2 separate regions of the Homo sapiens genome follow, and region 1 is linked to region 2. The links are contacts of gene promoters, found by promoter capture Hi-C in human tissues and cell types (Jung and others, 2019). All regions are on one chromosome and are shown on one strand. Each heading gives the region's core, a stretch centred on a gene start or on the middle of the fragment in contact. The rest is flanking DNA. Distances are from core to core; before and after follow the strand shown.

Region 1 (3,835 bases), core at 1,079-3,578, 260 kb before region 2:
CAGGTGCTTTCTCTAAGAGATACAGGGTGGGTGAGAGACAAGCCAGGGAGGATCTTAATTCAAGAGAAGAATTCATACCAAGAGCTGACCAAGAAGGCAGTAAATTCTGTGTACTTGTAGCAGAAGAAATTGGACTAGGAACTTGCCCAAAGCTTTATCAAAGAAAAGCATTGTGTTCAATCTTGGTAGAAACATGCCAGCAATAAGTGCTTATGTTCCATAGCCATATCATGGGCTTCTCACTTTTAAACCTCCTCCAGGGGATGTTCTCAGACATTTCACAATCCCTCTGGGGACATTACAGTAGAAGAGAAACACATGGAACTGTACCAGTGCTTTTTGCCCATGTTCATCCTAAGCTCCGGCTTTAGGCAGTGCTTTCTGACCTGGGCGGAGTGAAGACGCTGCTGGTGGCTGAGGCCAGTAACATGGGGCCCCTGCCCAGCCACCCTGAAGGCTGGGTAGGTCCCTCTTTTCACCACCAGTTTTCCACATCTGTGTACTCTAGATTAACAAACTCTGGATAAACAGATATTTACATTTTAAACTCAGGCCTACACAGAGTAGTTTTCCTTATAAGGAGCATGTATCACTTAGCAAGAAACTAAAAATGGCAAATGAGTTTTTCATCCTTTAAGAAAAAAATCAGCTTTAGAATTCTCTGCGGTCAGTTGTGTGCAATGCAACAAAACTACCTTTCAGTAAATTACTTAGTTATTTATTTCAGTGTTTTGTTTCTTTTGATACTAAGTTTCCCTTTCAATAATGAATGATGTGACCAACCAAGGAGAATTTGTTTGTTCTGTACTAAAATTATATTTTACAGTTAGGAATTATAAAAAGCAAGGGAGCATCTTTAAATGTTTTTTGTTTAAGCGATGTCTTCCATCCAAAGTAAGAATAATACTCTCGGAAGGTCCTTTTGGTGTCATGTCACTTGCTGTATGTGGCAGCCTTACAGTGCCACACTTGGGTACTGAAAAATCAATAAAACGAAAGTTCATCATCCCATGGCCCGTAGACTGTGTGGGCTTGCTTCCTTGTCATCTTTGAATCTTCTTACTCATTAGAATGATGAGTTGAACTTGAGTCCAAATTCAGTGAAATACATTGTCTGAGTCTGACGCACACTCTTTGCATGTGTTGTGTTGGGTGTGCATACAGTGAAGCACAATTGTGTGGGGTTGTGGAGAGGGCGTCCACACTCTCTGCAGCTCAGAAAGCAGATATTTCACAAGTAGTGACCAACCCACGACGTTAAGCCATTCACCAACAATAATTGCCACTCTGAGATGACTGTTTATAAGGTCACCATTTTAAGTACCTACTTGTATATAGACAAGGAAAAGTAATAAAATTAACCAATTTTTATGTATTTAATAGTAACAGCAAATGCTGACTTTATGTTACACTGTTTTGCAGTTCGATCTAAGCTTAGAACCTTTGGCTTACTTCCAGAAAATTATGACTGTCATTATTAATGTTACGTGTTACCAATATGGAGGATGACATTAGACGCTCAGCATGTTTCTCAGCCGTTGGAGAATACATAGATGTTCTCCTGGAGCAGGAAGGTGGGCCTGAGCCATAACCTGAAAATAGATGATAGAGACAGATGGGAAGGGAAGGGGACCAGCTGTTAGGACCAACAAAAATAAAGGCCTGAGACATGCCGGAGAGGAGAGGGAAGCGCAAAAACAAAATGAGAGAACAGAGCCAGCAAAGTGAGCTCAAGGGAGGTCCTCAAGCCATTGATCGCTAGGAAAACAGGACACAGCATTAAGATAGAACTGTCGTAAATAATTTTTGAGGCAGTGCAATGACTATAGGGCTTTTTGCCTGACTTTAAATACGTTAAAATATCTAAGATGTTAAAAGACATCTAAATTTTTATTCCACTTGGTGGAAGAGAAGTCAGTGCCTATTTCCAACACTAACCATGTTGACAGGTCTGAAAAGCCATGGTTCTGTGTTTTTGTTTTCAGTCTGTTTCCATTTGTCCTATGAATTGGCATGTGCCCTGTGGGTTTTTTTGGTTTTTTTGAGATCCGGAAATGCTAATGGTTTGCACAGAGGGGGTCGTGAGGTGCAGGTCACCTCTGTCAGAGTCACAGTGTCTTCTTTTGGAAACGTCATGAAAAGACAAAGGAGTGCCCGGCTAATCCCAAAGCACGCCTTGGCAGAGTGGATCTGCCTGGAGCATCCATCCGTGGCAGCATGAAAGGCAATCCTGTGAGAGTCTTCCTGGCCCCACCTCGTCTGGGAGCATGTGGGCCTGTGATCCCACCTCCTCCTAACAAAAGAAGAGTGTGTCTGTTGATGTGTTTTATTTTGCTTTTAGCCAGGCTAGTCCCCCTGCCCTTGCGCAGTCCAGCCTCTTTCTATTAATAGATCTATTAAGGTTGACTGAGACCTGCTGCAGGGGACGCTAGGGGCACTTTGGCCTTCGATCTTTGCCTTTCACCCTTGACACTGTTTGGCAGGTGAACGACATCCGGGCTCCAGACTTCATGGCCACTTCAACATTTCTGTCAACAGCCTGTGTCTGTTTCATGTAAGAGGCCCAAACAAGAAAATCAAGGCTTAAGAAGGATTTCTGCCTTGAGTAAAGGACTGAAACCTCCTCACAGAACACGATGGTGACAGGCACAAAAGACAGACTTCTTGTTTAAGTAGGTGAACTCCAAAGACGAGAGAAAAGGAGTTTTTTTCCTCCCGTTCAACCAGTCATCAAATAAACATCTCAGGCATCTGGTGTTTTGTCAAGGGATTGGGATTCCAGTGGCCCCTGTGTGACTGGAAGGGGAAAGGTTTGTCGGTGGCAACGCCATCGAAACACAAAGGAGCAGCTTTAGAATCCCCAGTGTGGGTCTTCTCTTGTGTTATTTCTACAACATCCTTGTGCCAGCTGTTCTTGCTGTTCTCTCAGGCTTCTAATTGGGAGTGTGAATACTACCTTTCACCCTTTTTGCCTTCATGAGAATCAGAGTTTGAAGTGGACAGTTCTGAAAATATTAATCATCTTTTTTTTTTTTTTTTTTTTTTTTTGAGACGGAGTCTCACTCTGTCGCCCAGGCTGGAGTGCAGTGGCGCGATCTCGGCTCACTGCAAGCTCCGCCTCCCGGGTTCACGCCATTCTCCTGCCTCAGCCTCCCTAGTAGCTGGGACTACAGGCGCCTGCCACCACACCCAGCTAATTTTTTGTATTTTTAATAGAGACGGGGTTTCACCGTGTTAGCCAGGATGGTCTCGATCTCCTGACCTCGTGATCCACCTGCCTCGGCCTCCCAAAGTGCTAGGATTACAGGCGTGAGTCACCGCACCGGGCCTAATCACCTTATTCTTGCCTGTCATTACACAAGCCTTAAACTCCAGGGACCAGACTTAGCACTTTCTTTTCCTAAGATTGCTTTTTCTCCCACTTGGCCCAAGCTTTAATACCCAGATTTTAGACTCAAAACACTTAAAACATTTGGTGGGCTCTCCTCAGCCTTGTAAAGTTCTTTGATACTGGTCATGGCAGCACAAGAGAATTTTCTGGAAGTTCCTGGCTGTTTAATGTTCAAATTACACGTTTAAATTCTCTCCCACCTCCCGTGGCCCTGTTTTCCATCAGTGTATCTATTTCTGGCCCAAATGTCCTTGAACATGGACCATGACAGGTCCTGTGTTTACTTTCCATGTTTCTACATTTATAATCCAGTAAAGAAGACACCGAGTAGTACATAGTATTTTGTAAATATTTGTAAACTAATGAAAATCTGGTTTCTTTCACAAATCACCTCTTTAGGTTTCTAAAATTTATGAAAGAAATCTTTTAAAATCTATTCTAGGC
Region 2 (4,283 bases), core at 398-2,897:
TGGCACACATTTCTGACCCTAGCTCAGTGCCTGGAACCTGGCGCACATTTCTGACCCTAGCTCAGTGCCTGGGGCCTGACACACATTTCTGACCCTAGCTCAGTGCCTGGGGCCTGACACACATTTCTGAGTCTAGCTCAGTGCCTGAAACCTGGCGCACATTTCTGACCCTAGCTCAGTGCCTGGGACCTGGCACACATTTTTTTTTCTTTTTTTTTTTTTTCACAGAGTCTCGCTCTGTCACCCAGACTGGAGTGCAGTGGCACGAATCTCGGCTCACTGCAACCTCCATTTCCTGGGTTCAAGCAATTCTCCTGCCTCAGCTTCCTGAGTAGCTGGGATTACAAGTGCCCGCCACCACGCCCAGCTAATTTTTGTATTTTTAGTAGAGATGGGGTTTAACTATGTTGGCCAGGCTGGTCTCGAACTCCTGACCTCTTGATTCGCCCACCTCAGCCTCTCAAAGTGCTGGGACTACAAGCGTGAGCAACCGCGCCCGGCCCTGGCTCACATTTCTGACCCTAGGTCATTGTCTGGGCCCTGGAAGGTGCTCAGGGTGATCCATCGCTCAAATCCAAGCCTGTGGAGAGGATGACATTTCATTCCCAGGTTTCTCATGAGCCAAAAAACCTTCATTTCTATAGCGCTATCCTCTTCTATCTACCATGTGAGGGGTCAGGAGCCGACTCATCCCAAGGGTCTAGGAGTCCTGCCATTGACCTTACTGCTTAGGGTCACAAGCTGGCACCCTTCAAAACCACACATTGGGTCTGCCCTCACAGCGGCAGTGTGTTCAACTGGATGGGGAGGTAAGTAGCCCAAGGTCAGACAGTTGGACCTGGGTAGACAATAGACTTGGGGACAGACTTTGGAAGGCACTCCCCTGATTCCCCTGTCTCCATGGGGCCTCAATACTAGAGCCCTCAAGGTTGGTCAGGGAGTGTTTGTGCTTTGACCATGCAAAGGGTGCCAGGTTGTGGCTAGGGATGCCCCCGGCGTTCCTCTCCCTCCTACCTACTCCTCAGCCTCTGCAGGTGCCTGTCATGGCCTCTGTGTCCTTCATTCTGTCCACTCATGTGTTCACTGGGCCCCTCCTTGGTGCCAGGCACCCGCTACTGAGGGATACCAAGCCCCTGCCAGAGAAGCTTGGAGCTGGGTCACAGCAGCAAGGAGGCTGGAGACATCAGTGGCATCAGTGCACTGGTCAGTGAGGCCGCTGTGGGAGGAGGGAGTGGGAGCAGAAGCTAAGAGTGGACTGAAGTCCTGAGGCCAGGAAGTAGTTCAGGGTTTAAGAAGAGGAGAGACAGGCGGCCCGGGGAGGGAGCAGGCTCAGGATGGGCCTCCAGTGCCTCCTCTGGAGCTCACTACCCAGACTACAGCAGCGCAGCGGGCAGCGCCTCAGCTCCTTCCCCTTCTGCTGCCTACAGCCTGGACAGGACCCGGAATCAAACCGCAGGCCCTGGGTCACCGCTGCCGGAAAGAGCCAGTTCCTGTCCGTCCATGCACCCACCCACACAACCTGGGCCCTCCTGGAGGTGCTGGGGGAGACCCAGCCTGAGTGCCTGGAAGTGACTGCGGGAAGGGAGTACAACTGACCACGCCTTTTTTCCGGGGTATAAAAGCGGAGGAGCACGTTCTATTCTGGCAGTGTAGCTGCGAGAACCTTTGCACGCGCACAAACTACGGGGACGATTTCTGATTGATTTTTGGCGCTTTCGATCCACCCTCCTCCCTTCTCATGGGACTTTGGGGACAAAGCGTCCCGACCGCCTCGAGCGCTCGAGCAGGGCGCTATCCAGGAGCCAGGACAGCGTCGGGAACCAGACCATGGCTCCTGGACCCCAAGATCCTTAAGTTCGTCGTCTTCATCGTCGCGGTTCTGCTGCCGGTGAGTCTCCGCCGCGGTCCCTGGCTGGGGAAGAGCGCACCTGGCGCCGGGAGTGGGCAGGGAGAGAGGGGGACACGGTGGGGATGCTTGGCCCGGGTCGCCTGCGGCCGGGCATGTCTGGGCAGGACGAACCCGCCGTCGGAGTCAGGGGAAGAGTGGGGTGCCCGGGCTGGGCAGGAGCGACCGGGCCGCGAGGGAGCAGAGCGCGCGCTCCCCCTGGCTGTCCCGTGCGGCGAGGACCGCACTGAGCTGCCCCAGAGGAAGTTCCAGAATCAGCGGAGGGAGGGAGTCAAGATGGAAACCCCGGAGTGAACCTCAGGAAGCCACAGAGCGGTTGCCTCTTTCGTTCGTTCGTTCGTTCGTTCGTTCATAACGTTAACCCAGGCCGGTCGCGGTGGCTCACGCCTGTAATCCCAGCACGTTGGGAGGCCGAGGCGGGCGGATCACCTGAGGTCAGGAGTTGGAGACCAGCCTAGCCACCATGGTGAAACCCCGTCTCTACTAAAAATACAAAAATTAGCCGGACGTGATGGCGGTCGCCTGTAATCCCAGCTACTCGGGAGGCTGAGGCAGAAGGAGAATCACTTGAATCCGGGAGGCGGAGGTTGCAGTGAGCCGAGATCGCGCCATCGCACTCCAGCCTGGTCAACAAGAGCGAGACTCCGTCTCAAAAAAAAAAAAAAAAAAAAAAAAAAAGTTAGCCAGGCGTGGCAGCCTGCGCCTGTAGTCCCAGCTACTCAGGAGGCTGAGGCAGGAGAACTGCTTGAACCCGGGAGGCAGAGGTTGCAGTGAGCCGAGATTGCACCACTGCACTCCAGCCTGGGCGACAGAGCGAGACTCTGCCTTAACAAAAACAGACAAACAAACAAACAAAATTAACCCTATGTTTACACTGTTACACGTGTTTCTTGGAGATCAGTTTAACAAACAGCCTGTGAAAAAGCTTTCCAACGCTGTTTTTTGTAACTTTCATTTCCTATAGAACCCTGAAAGTGGCAGGAAGCGGTTAACCAAGGTGCTTGCAGTCAGTGTCTTCCACTGCCACCCGTGTGTCCCCTCTGTATCCCATAGGCAGGACCGCGGGATGGCCCCTTCCTTAGGCATAAAAGATGTAAAGTTCTCGTTGTGAGTTGGGTTTGGAAACTGAGATTGGTAGTGGGGTGCACAAGAAGGACATAAAAATAAGATGTGCAGACTGCCAGGACTTTTTCTGAGTGACTGACGTTTCTGCCAACAGTGCTTTCTAAGGTTTCTTACGTAATACCAAAAAACAAAACGGGGAGGATAAAACAAGATTACATGAACCATGAGAGTCTCCATGTTTTCTTTCAACGAAGTAATACTAAATTCAGAACAGCAGTGACATTTTCACCTCTCAAAAATTACACAACTGACTTCTACAATAGTTTATAGTGGGTGGACCTACCTGAGGCAGCTAGAAGAATGGCTGTGTCAGGACAGTGGCCCTGAAGAGAGAATGTGTGGATGACCTGTGTAGACAAGACCAGCAACCTGAATTTCACAGTTTTGGGAATGTGAACTCTATGCGTCCCAAAGGAGGCTTTGATCCCTCCATCAATCTTGCCTTATTAAATGCATTTCAATGCACAGTTGCTTTTTAAAATTTTGGAGCTAGCACAAATCACATTAGATGTTTTATGGCAGTACATTCAGATTGATTTTCTTTTAAACAAGGGTATTGTATTTTACTACATGGGTAAGCCACAGGTTAATTCACTGTTGCCATCTAGAGGCAGCTGGTTATATCCCATCCCGATGGGATATAACCCAAAGCAAATTTGCCTTTGCTAATTCCAACAGCATTGTACTAAATACCCTTGTATGTATCGTGTGTCCACATGTCCATGCGCACCAGCTTATTGGGCAACTCCTTAGAAGTAGAATTTTACTTCTACTTCCGTGGGATAAATCATTTCAGAAGTTTCTTTAGATGTTTACGAATTTTCTTCCAAAAGACCATTGAACTCAGCTTACACTCACACCTAGTTCACACATGTGCCTGTATCCCTACACCCTTGTTACACTTAGCTTTCATTCGTTGCTAGTCTAGGAAGTAAAAGGTGATTCATCACATTGTTATGTACTTTCATTCCTTAATGGTATTAGGAATTTTCAAGGATACGGGAGTTTTGGTAGTGGGAGTAGATGACCGGGGGATCCAGATGAGACAGCAGGGGAGGGTGGCAGGGAAGACTGAATTCCCAGCTGTGAACTTGGAGAACCGTGGTCAGCTGGGGCCAGTCCCTGCCACCTGCCACGCCTGTAAATGGAGATAAGGTCTCCATCTTCAGGCTGTCAGGAGGACATCAGATGAGCCTGGAGCTGAGCTCAGTTCCTGACCCCAGGTCCTGGCTCTGTCAGCGTTGGACTGTTC

Evidence for each region. Contacts are between HindIII fragments. The study calls those that stand out against the background at their distance.
Region 1: a fragment that was not itself captured here is called in contact with the fragment with the promoter of TNFRSF10D in region 2 in 3 of the 25 tissues and cell types used here (IMR-90 fibroblasts, adrenal gland and spleen).

Annotation. Positions count from the first base shown.
Region 1 is chr8:23,426,338-23,430,172 of GRCh38, reverse strand. ENTPD4 (ectonucleoside triphosphate diphosphohydrolase 4) reads left to right here. Exons shown (of 13, transcript NM_004901.5): 13 at 1-1,011. Among named protein-coding and RNA genes, the nearest start is that of LOXL2, 24 kb to the right of the region's middle. The HindIII fragment of the contact is 3,070 bases long and covers 794-3,835 here.
Region 2 is chr8:23,161,391-23,165,673 of GRCh38, reverse strand. It overlaps TNFRSF10D (TNF receptor superfamily member 10d), which reads left to right and starts at 1,647. Exons shown (of 9, transcript NM_003840.5): 1 at 1,647-1,888. The coding sequence starts at 1,739. RefSeq lists an enhancer at 1,790-1,909. The HindIII fragment of the contact is 7,003 bases long and covers 1-3,756 here.